3 separate regions of the Homo sapiens genome follow, and all the other regions are linked to region 2. The links are contacts of gene promoters, found by promoter capture Hi-C in blood cells and fetal thymus (Javierre and others, 2016). All regions are on one chromosome and are shown on one strand. Each heading gives the region's core, a stretch centred on a gene start or on the middle of the fragment in contact. The rest is flanking DNA. Distances are from core to core; before and after follow the strand shown. Region 1 overlaps CDC42SE2 (CDC42 small effector 2). Region 2 holds the start of HINT1 (histidine triad nucleotide binding protein 1). Region 3 overlaps CDC42SE2 (CDC42 small effector 2).

What was found. Contacts are between HindIII fragments. The CHiCAGO score rates a contact against its expected background, and 5 or more counts as called.
Region 1: a contact is called between a fragment that was not itself captured here and the fragment with the promoter of HINT1 in region 2, in 15 of 17 cell types (naive CD4 T cells, non-activated CD4 T cells, total CD8 T cells and 12 more). The highest score is 23.5, in naive CD4 T cells.
Region 3: a fragment that was not itself captured here is called in contact with the fragment with the promoter of HINT1 in region 2 in 11 of 17 cell types (total CD8 T cells, naive CD4 T cells, non-activated CD4 T cells and 8 more); the score reaches 14.8 in total CD8 T cells.

Annotation. Positions count from the first base shown.
Region 1 is chr5:131,357,077-131,359,776 of GRCh38, reverse strand. It overlaps CDC42SE2 (CDC42 small effector 2), which reads right to left. Exons shown (of 5, transcript NM_001375635.1): 3 at 230-568. The coding sequence starts at 283. Among named protein-coding and RNA genes, the nearest start is that of CDC42SE2, 94 kb to the right of the region's middle. RefSeq lists enhancers at 1,645-1,734, 1,755-1,804, 1,825-1,904, 1,995-2,044. The HindIII fragment of the contact is 1,585 bases long and covers 626-2,210 here.
Region 2 is chr5:131,163,816-131,166,553 of GRCh38, reverse strand. It overlaps HINT1 (histidine triad nucleotide binding protein 1), which reads left to right and starts at 1,298. Exons shown (of 3, transcript NM_005340.7): 1 at 1,298-1,459. The coding sequence starts at 1,349. RefSeq lists enhancers at 929-978, 1,249-1,908, 1,909-2,569 and silencers at 1,129-1,178, 1,189-1,268, 1,479-2,118. The HindIII fragment of the contact is 11,885 bases long and covers 1-2,738 here.
Region 3 is chr5:131,339,767-131,342,466 of GRCh38, reverse strand. All of the region lies in intron 2 of CDC42SE2 (CDC42 small effector 2), which reads right to left. Among named protein-coding and RNA genes, the nearest start is that of CDC42SE2, 77 kb to the right of the region's middle. The HindIII fragment of the contact is 1,115 bases long and covers 728-1,842 here.

The DNA.
Region 1 (2,700 bases), core at 169-2,668, 190 kb before region 2:
CCTCTCAGTCATGTACGATGAATGGTCTAGGAGAGTTCTTGACATACAGTATTTACTTTAAAAACATTATTTCTTTTTAAACATATGTTCGGAGTTCCACTGAACTATTCTCTGTGGTATTCTCTACAACTGCTTTGCAATTACTGCTAGGATCCCAATCCTCAGTTTGAGAACCAGTGGAAAGTTTAATAAGCACCCCACCTGATGTGTCCACATACTTCATACTTACAGGCTGAGGCTGTTCTGCAATACAGCAGTTGAAACACAACCAGAATTCACTCATGCTTACAGTCCACAGTAAATGAGCACCAATGAAGGTTCCAAATCTCAACTCGGGAAGTTCCAAAAATACGCTCCTCAATACGATGATGTCCAGTGATGCCAAGATGAAATTTTATTATTTCACCGTGTTTTTGTTCCTGGAAGTCAAGTATCTTACACAGTCGATTTAATAAAGAAAAATTTGGATTGTTTCCTTTCTTTGCTTCTGGTTCTACAGAGACTCCTTTCTGAACCACGACGAAGGTATAAAAATTGTTGTCTTGACCCAGGGACTATAACAGATAGTCTAGGGAAAAAAAAGAAAAAGTAAAAAAAAGTTAAACTTTACTTATCCTTGAAAGCTTTTATTTCTTAAAATAAATATTACCAAAAAAAGTAAACACTGAAAAAAAATCAAGATTTTAACAAACTGATATTGATTCAACAAATTATTTTTTGAGCAACTTTTTAAGTGTCAAGTTCTAGGTGTAGTAGTAAAAGCAGACAGAAATCTTTGCCTTCGTGGGGCATCCTATTTTATGATTATAAAAGTATGGATTATTTTAATGAGTTAATTTTTAAAAATCACTAATTAGAACATTATGACTGCCACATACAAGTTTCTAATTCCAAGAAGAAATAATGATCACCATTTTCATATAGGTTTCTTCAGTTGAGTCCTTTATTCTCACAGACAACTCAGACAGTAATTGACACAGCAATGAATTCTAAGGAGATAATCAAGCAGGTGCAGTTCATCAAAAACCATAAACAAACTTATTACCTTATCCACTGGAATTAGAGCTGTACATGAAAAATGGGTAGAGGTTAAGTTGGCTTTCTTCTGTGAATCGAGCTATTAGATCCCTACCACTCCCACCACTCCTACCATCATTACTAGAACGCATGTTAGTCAAAATACTCTACATCCCACTGTGGCAAACCAAGCTGAGTCTATCAGAATCCTTGTCAGGCAATGTTCTATCTGCAGTTGGACAAAGAGTTAAACCTATTTTTTATTTCTGACTGCCAAGCTGTTGACTTTAAGGATGTCCTTAGTCAATAATATCCTATACCTCATGTGGAAGATGGTTTTGAGGTAATAATGCTGACAAGCAGCGGCAAAAGAGAAGTGGGAAGTCAAGATGACATCAATCTCTGATTCTAGGCATCCCTAAGATCAGTTTCACCTGTGCACCAGACGTTTGGTTTTGTAAGGCAACATATCTCCCTCTTTAGCCTGAAGTTATGATGAAGTGGGTTTATATCACTTGCAGACTACTACAATAGTCAAGTTAAGATGTCCAATAGACAGTTTGATATATAAATCTGAAGCCAAGGAGAAGTTTTGCAATCATCAGATTATGACTAAAGCAATGAATGATCTCTAGGCAAAACGGTATCATGACAAGCAAAGTGTGCTCAACAGAGTCCTCTGAGTAAGAACAGCATTTAAATCATAGGTAGAAAAAGAGAAGTCTACTAAGGAGGTTTGGGTGTTACCAGAATTAGAAGAGGAAAATCCGTTAAATGTGGTGTCACTGGAGCCTGTTTCAAGGAGAAAGTGGGTGGCAGTATTAACTGCCACTGAGATAGGAAAGACTGAGGACTATTCCTTAGACTGTGCAGCAAACACAGTGTGGCGCTGGCAACAGCAGTTTCAGTAAAGTAGTGTGGGTAGACATCAGATTACAGGAGGTTAAGTGAGTGAAAGGAAAGCAGCAGAGTCAACAAGTGTAGACAATGTTTGCAAGAAAAATGGATATAAAGTTTAAAAAGTAGAGTGGTAGAATGAAGAAAATGAGCCTTCCTTGAAATGAAAAGATCAAAGACTAAAGATGTATCAATTTGACTGTGTTCAAAGAGATGTTAACATTTTTGTCCCAAATGGCGAAATATAAATCACTTATTTGTAAATTCTGGAAAGAGACCTCACACATTTATAAGCTTTGCCAACTATAGATCAGTAACAACCACATTACAGGATCACAGAGTCCTGAACATTAAGTGAAATTAAATTCCTCCCTTTTGCTTTTTCCAAAGCCACGACTCTAAACCTGGAAAGACAGAAGTGACGGTGATTTTTGTAGCTGTACAGATAAAGATGTAATGTAAAGTTAAGGCACACACCCTCAGTGTCACAAATCTGGGTAGTATAACAAGGCATGAATTCAGGACCCTGATTCTACAGTCCAGAGGACAAGTCCTCTAACATACAGGAAAATAACATGTTAAGATTTAAGCATACATCCAAGGAATATCAAAAGAAAGAAAAGTTTACATTTTTGCCATTAATTAAAATTCAGAACCTGGAATGTTTATTTAAGCAGAGATGAACATTCCTTATCTTACCCAAACTCTAAATCAAGGAAGTGGCAGTCTTTGGCCAATGAATTGGGTAAATACTGTGAAGTTTTATAAGCTCAAAGAATAGTATCA
Region 2 (2,738 bases), core at 49-2,548:
CATGACTTCAAAACTATTATCTAATTTATAGGCATTATTTAGATTTTACGAATTGTCCCAGTAATGTCTTTGATAGCAAAAGTACCAAATGGACACTTTTGAGATTAAAGGCAACCACATTCAATAATTTTGCCAAGACAAGGGTAGTAATGTAATCATAAAAGGCAGCTGAGCTCACATCTGTAATCCCAGCACTTTGGGAGGCTGAGGCGGGTGGAACACCTGAGGTCAGAAGTTTGAGAACAGCCTGGCCAGCATGGGGAAACCCTGTCTCTACTAAAAATACAAAAATTAGCCAGGTGTGGTGGTGCGCGCCTGTAGTCCTAGCTACTTGGGAGGCTGAGGCATGAGAATCACTCGAACTCGGGAGGCAGAGGTTGCAATGAGCCGAGATTGTGCCACTGCAGTCGAGCCTGGGCGACAGAGCAAGAATCTATCTAAAAAAAAAAAAGGCATTGAGGAGGTATACTTTTTCTTAATACGTACACTTAGAGGTCTGGTATGATAACTGTAATTGTCTATAGGATTTTATAAATGGATGTCCTTAGTGACCTTGACAAGAGGGAAATGGACTCAAAAATGAAAGATAAGAAAGCAGACATGGTATGTAGAAAACTTCTTTATAAAACGAGCAAAGATACGGAGGGGGATGTGGGATTAAGGAAGGTTTTTTTTTTTAAAGTGGGTCATTTTATTAATACATTATGTTGATTGCTGCTGGGAAAAATTCTTTGCAGAGCAGTCTAGGGAGGTTTACAAACTACTGATGCCTGGGGCTCATCTCCAAAGATTCTTATTTAATGGATCTGGGCTGCAGCCAGGTTCACGGGGATTTTTAAAAGCTCCCCAAGTGATCTTAATGTGTAGTCAAGATTGAGAACCACTGGTAGAGAGAGAAAAAAACTCTGTTGAAGAGAGGACTTAAAATCTGCTGCAGCAGCAAGACCTTAAATAATCTAAGTGCTAAGTTGCAGCCAGCACCACTTAAATTATCAAATCTTGTCAGTTACAGTATCCAACTTTCCCTACAAGCATCCATAGGCAGACGAAGGGTTTATACCAGTAACTGCATTCCCCAGGAGACAAGAAAGGAGGATAGAAAAACGACTTAGGAATCTCCTTGGAGCTCAAGACCAGGAACTTCCCCAAGCCGGAGGTCCCTGAGGCGCTCTAGCGCGCTGGCCGCACTCGCAGCCCAGGTCGCCAGTGCGCACGCGCAAGATTAGGTGGGGCGCCAGAGCCGGGGCACCTGCGCAGGCTTGGCTGCGCCCTCTCGCGCCGCACGCTCTGCGGGTTCCTCCCTTCTTCCGAGCCTCTCCTCTGGCCGCCGCGCGGGAGAGAGGCCGAGATGGCAGATGAGATTGCCAAGGCTCAGGTCGCTCGGCCTGGTGGCGACACGATCTTTGGGAAGATCATCCGCAAGGAAATACCAGCCAAAATCATTTTTGAGGATGACCGGGTAGGTACTGGGCACCACCTCTCTCGCCTGCTGAGGTGGGTATCGTCCGCGGATCCTCGGGTTTCTCGCGGAGGGAGAGGAGGGGTCGCGAGTGTAGCGGCGACGGGAGGGGACCTGGCTGCCCTGGTCCAGCGGGCCCCCAGCCAGCGGACAGGGCCCGGGCACTCCGAGGCGGCCTGCCGGCGCGTGCCGGCGCTCCGGTTACTCGTTATCTGCCCCGGGCGCGGGCCAGGCCGCCGGGCGCCCTGAGTGCCGCACCGCGGGGCCTGGGCGCGTGTCGGGGCGCACTGGGGCCCCCGCGTGGAAGCCCGCCGGTTCCCCGGCTGCCTCGGACCTTGCCTGTATCAGGAATCTCGAAATCTCGCCAGCGCTCTGCCTGACAGAGAGAAACCCGATCGCGCCCTGACTCAGGCCCAATCTCCGCGATCTCCCGCGCACAGCCGGCCTGCCAGGGCCCGGCGTTCCTGGGCGCTGCTCAGCAAGGCATTGTGCTCGAGGGCCCCAGGGGCGCTGGGAGGTGCGCGGGCCGTCTGGGCCTGCCGGCTTCCTCCGCGGGGTGCGGCTTGCCACCCTCACCCCTACCCCTATCCCTATCTCCACCCCAAGGCCTACCCTGGGCTAGCGAGGCGATCTCCTGAGATAAGAAGTGGGCCCGCGTCTGGGATTTGCTTTCCGTTGACCTCTCCCGCTGAACATTTTGGACTTACAAACAGCTGAATGATTCTTTTTGTATTCAACAGGAAGTAATTTTATGCCAAGAGACTAAGACTGTAGTTTTTGTTGACTTCTTGTAGGTGAAATCCCAGTTGATGTGACTTTGAGATATCTTGTGTAAATTATTTAGTGGCCAGTTGTATTTTTGGGATTGGATCTCAGATAAAGCTGGGCAGATTGGCTGATTTAGATAGAACAAATTTTGTAAACAGTTTTGTTAAATTTAGGAAATATAAAATCTAAGAAAAACATTTATTCTACTAATGTCGGTTAGATTCAAAACGTTATCAAAAATTTAATTAGGTTCCTCTAGGTAAATTAAAAAAAAAAATACTTTGTCTCTACTCAGGGGAAATTCTTTGGTTTTAGAAAAAATATTTCTTTTTAAAGTTCGCAGTTGCCTTTGAGAAATGGTTCTTGAAAAATTTACATTTGAACCACCGAAGTCCAACTGTAGAACGGCAGGAAGCATTCTAAATGAATCAGCATTTTGTAGGGAGTACCCAGTAGAATTACTCCTGAGACAAATAAGTGTGGATGGGTTTTATTAAAACAGCTTTCACTT
Region 3 (2,700 bases), core at 36-2,535, 180 kb before region 2:
AGTGGGCTGAGATCGGCGCCACTGCACTCCAGCCCAGTGACAAAGTGAGACCCTATCTTAAAAAAAAAAAAAAAAAAAGACTATTAAAAATGGCAAATCTCTGACCTGTGCCTCTCCATCTCTTAGTGGGAACTGTTTTTAACTTACCAAGCTGCTTCTTCTGGTATTTACCTTTTTTTTTTTTTTTTGAGAAGGAGTCTTACTCTGTCACCAGGCTGGAGTGCAGTGGCACAATCTCAACTCACTGCAACCTCCACCCCCCCAGTTCAAGTGATTATCCTGCCTCAGCCTCCCGAGTAGCTGGGATTACAGGCATGCACCACGACACCCAGCTAATTTTTGTATTTTTGGTAGAGATGGGGTATCACCATGTTGGCCAGGATGGTCTCGATCTCCTGACCTCCTGATCTGCCCACCTCAGCCTCCCAAAGGGCTGGGATTACAGGCATGAGCCACCGTGCCCAGCGTGGTATTAACTTTTATAATTGTAAGTAAGATGCCCATTGCTACTTCTCAAATTATCAATTTTTAGACTACTTGGTATAATTAGCTATCTTTTTTTTTTTTTATTGAGACAAGAGTCTTGCTCTGTTGCCCAGGCTGGAGTTCAGTGGAACAATCTCAGCTCACTGCAACCTCCACCTCCTGGGTTCAAACGATTCTCCTACCTCAGCCGTCCTATCTTTTCTTAAATAATCTTTTGTTTTCTCTGAATAACTGCTAAGCTTTTTTAATTGCTTAGTTTTTTTATGTACCTATATCAGATCTGTAAAACACCTGTAATTTCCAAATACCTGAACATATTAATAGATGTACTGATTCAAATATTCTTTTGGTTTCTTCCTAGCCTCTTGCTTCAATCCTAACTGCTCTAAGTTGGTATGTTCTGTTTCTGTGAATCATGTCTTCCTCTTCTCATCCTTCTCACTTATGTTGTAAAATCATACACATACTCCCCTGGCTTCCTAAGAAGTGGGACACAGAATGAAAATGTTTTAATTCCTTACATTTGATATTTGATTGATCGTTTAGTTGAATATAGAATACCAAGACAAAAATCTTTCCCTCAGGATTTTAAAGACACTATTTCAGTATCTGCTAACTTCCAGGGTTGTGAGAAGTCTGATGACATTCCAATTTTCCTTCCTTTGTGTGTGATGTATTTCCCTTCTAGAAGAGTTAAACATTTTTTTCCTTAACTCTTGGAATTCTCAAATGCCACAGAGATGTTACTTGGTTTGGTCCTTTTTCATCATTGTACTGGGGTCTGAATGACCTCTTTCAAACTGGAAAATGTTGTCCAGGAAAATAATAGTACCTATACCATGGGACTATTGTGAAAATTAAACAAAACACTTAGTATACAGTAAGTACACAATGATGCTGATGATTAATATTTTTCCAAATTTGCCAATTGATTTGATTATTGCTTCTTGCCTCTCAATCCTTCCTTTGAAGTTCAACTTCCTTCTTCAGAAAGTACATACTCAGGCCACGCATGGTGGTTCGTGCCTGTAATACCAGCACTTTGGGAGGCTACGGCAGGCAGATCACTTGAGATCAGGAGTTCGAGACCAGCCTGGCCAACATGGTCAAACCCGACTCTACTAAAAAGACAAAAATTAACCAGACATGGTGGTACATGCCTGTAATTCCAGCTATTTGGGAGGCTGAGGCACAAGAATCGCTTGCACCTGGAGGCTGCAATGGACTAAGATCATGCCACTGCACTCCAGCCTGGATGACAGAGTGACACTCTGTCTTGGAAAAAAAAAAAAAGATACTCAAACAATTTTTCAGTAATATGTGCTCTTTAATGGTTAACTGAGAAGGTGGTAAGCTTCTCAGTTGTTTGTCTAAGACTGCAGTTTTTAATTGTAATTTTGGAATAATTTCAAACTTACAGCCGAGTTACTAATACAGAACAGAAATCTCCCATGTATCCTTCACCCAGATACGCTGTTAAAAGAATATCTATACAGTAGTTCCCTCTTAACCATGAAAGATAATGCTCCAAGGCCCTCAGTGTATGCCTGAAACCATAAATATTACCAAACTCTACATAAATTATGTTTCTGCCTACACATTAACCGACGGGTAGCATATAGAGTAGATACACTGCACAAAGGGATGATACATGTTCCAGATGAGACACAGCATGACGGTTCAAAATTTCATCATGCTACTCAAAATGGCTGCAATTTAAGAGTTATGAATTATTTCTAAAAATTTCCATTTAATATTTTTGGACCACAGTTGGCCAAAAACTGAAACCAAAGAAAGCAAAACCACGAATAAAATGGGACTACTGTATTTTTTCCTTTATTCTTGCACGACAGTTTAGCGAAGTATAGAATTCTTGGTTGACAGTGCTTTTCCTTCAGTTCTTTGCAGAAGACCTCTATTGTTGCTGATGAAAAGTAGACTATCAATCTAATTCTTGGTCATTTGAATACAAAATTCTTTTTTTGTGATAGGTGTTTTGAAGATTGTCTTCGTACTTGGCTCTGATTTCACAGAATCTCTAGTTTCAGATTCATTTTTATATATTTAGGACTTTTACCTGTTTCTATTCTGCTATTTAACCCACCTATTAATTTTCTCCATGACTCTTTTAGTTCAATGATCATAATTTTCTCTCTCTTTTTTTTTTTTTTGAGATGGGGTCTTGCTCTGTCATTCAGGCTAGAGTGCAGTGGT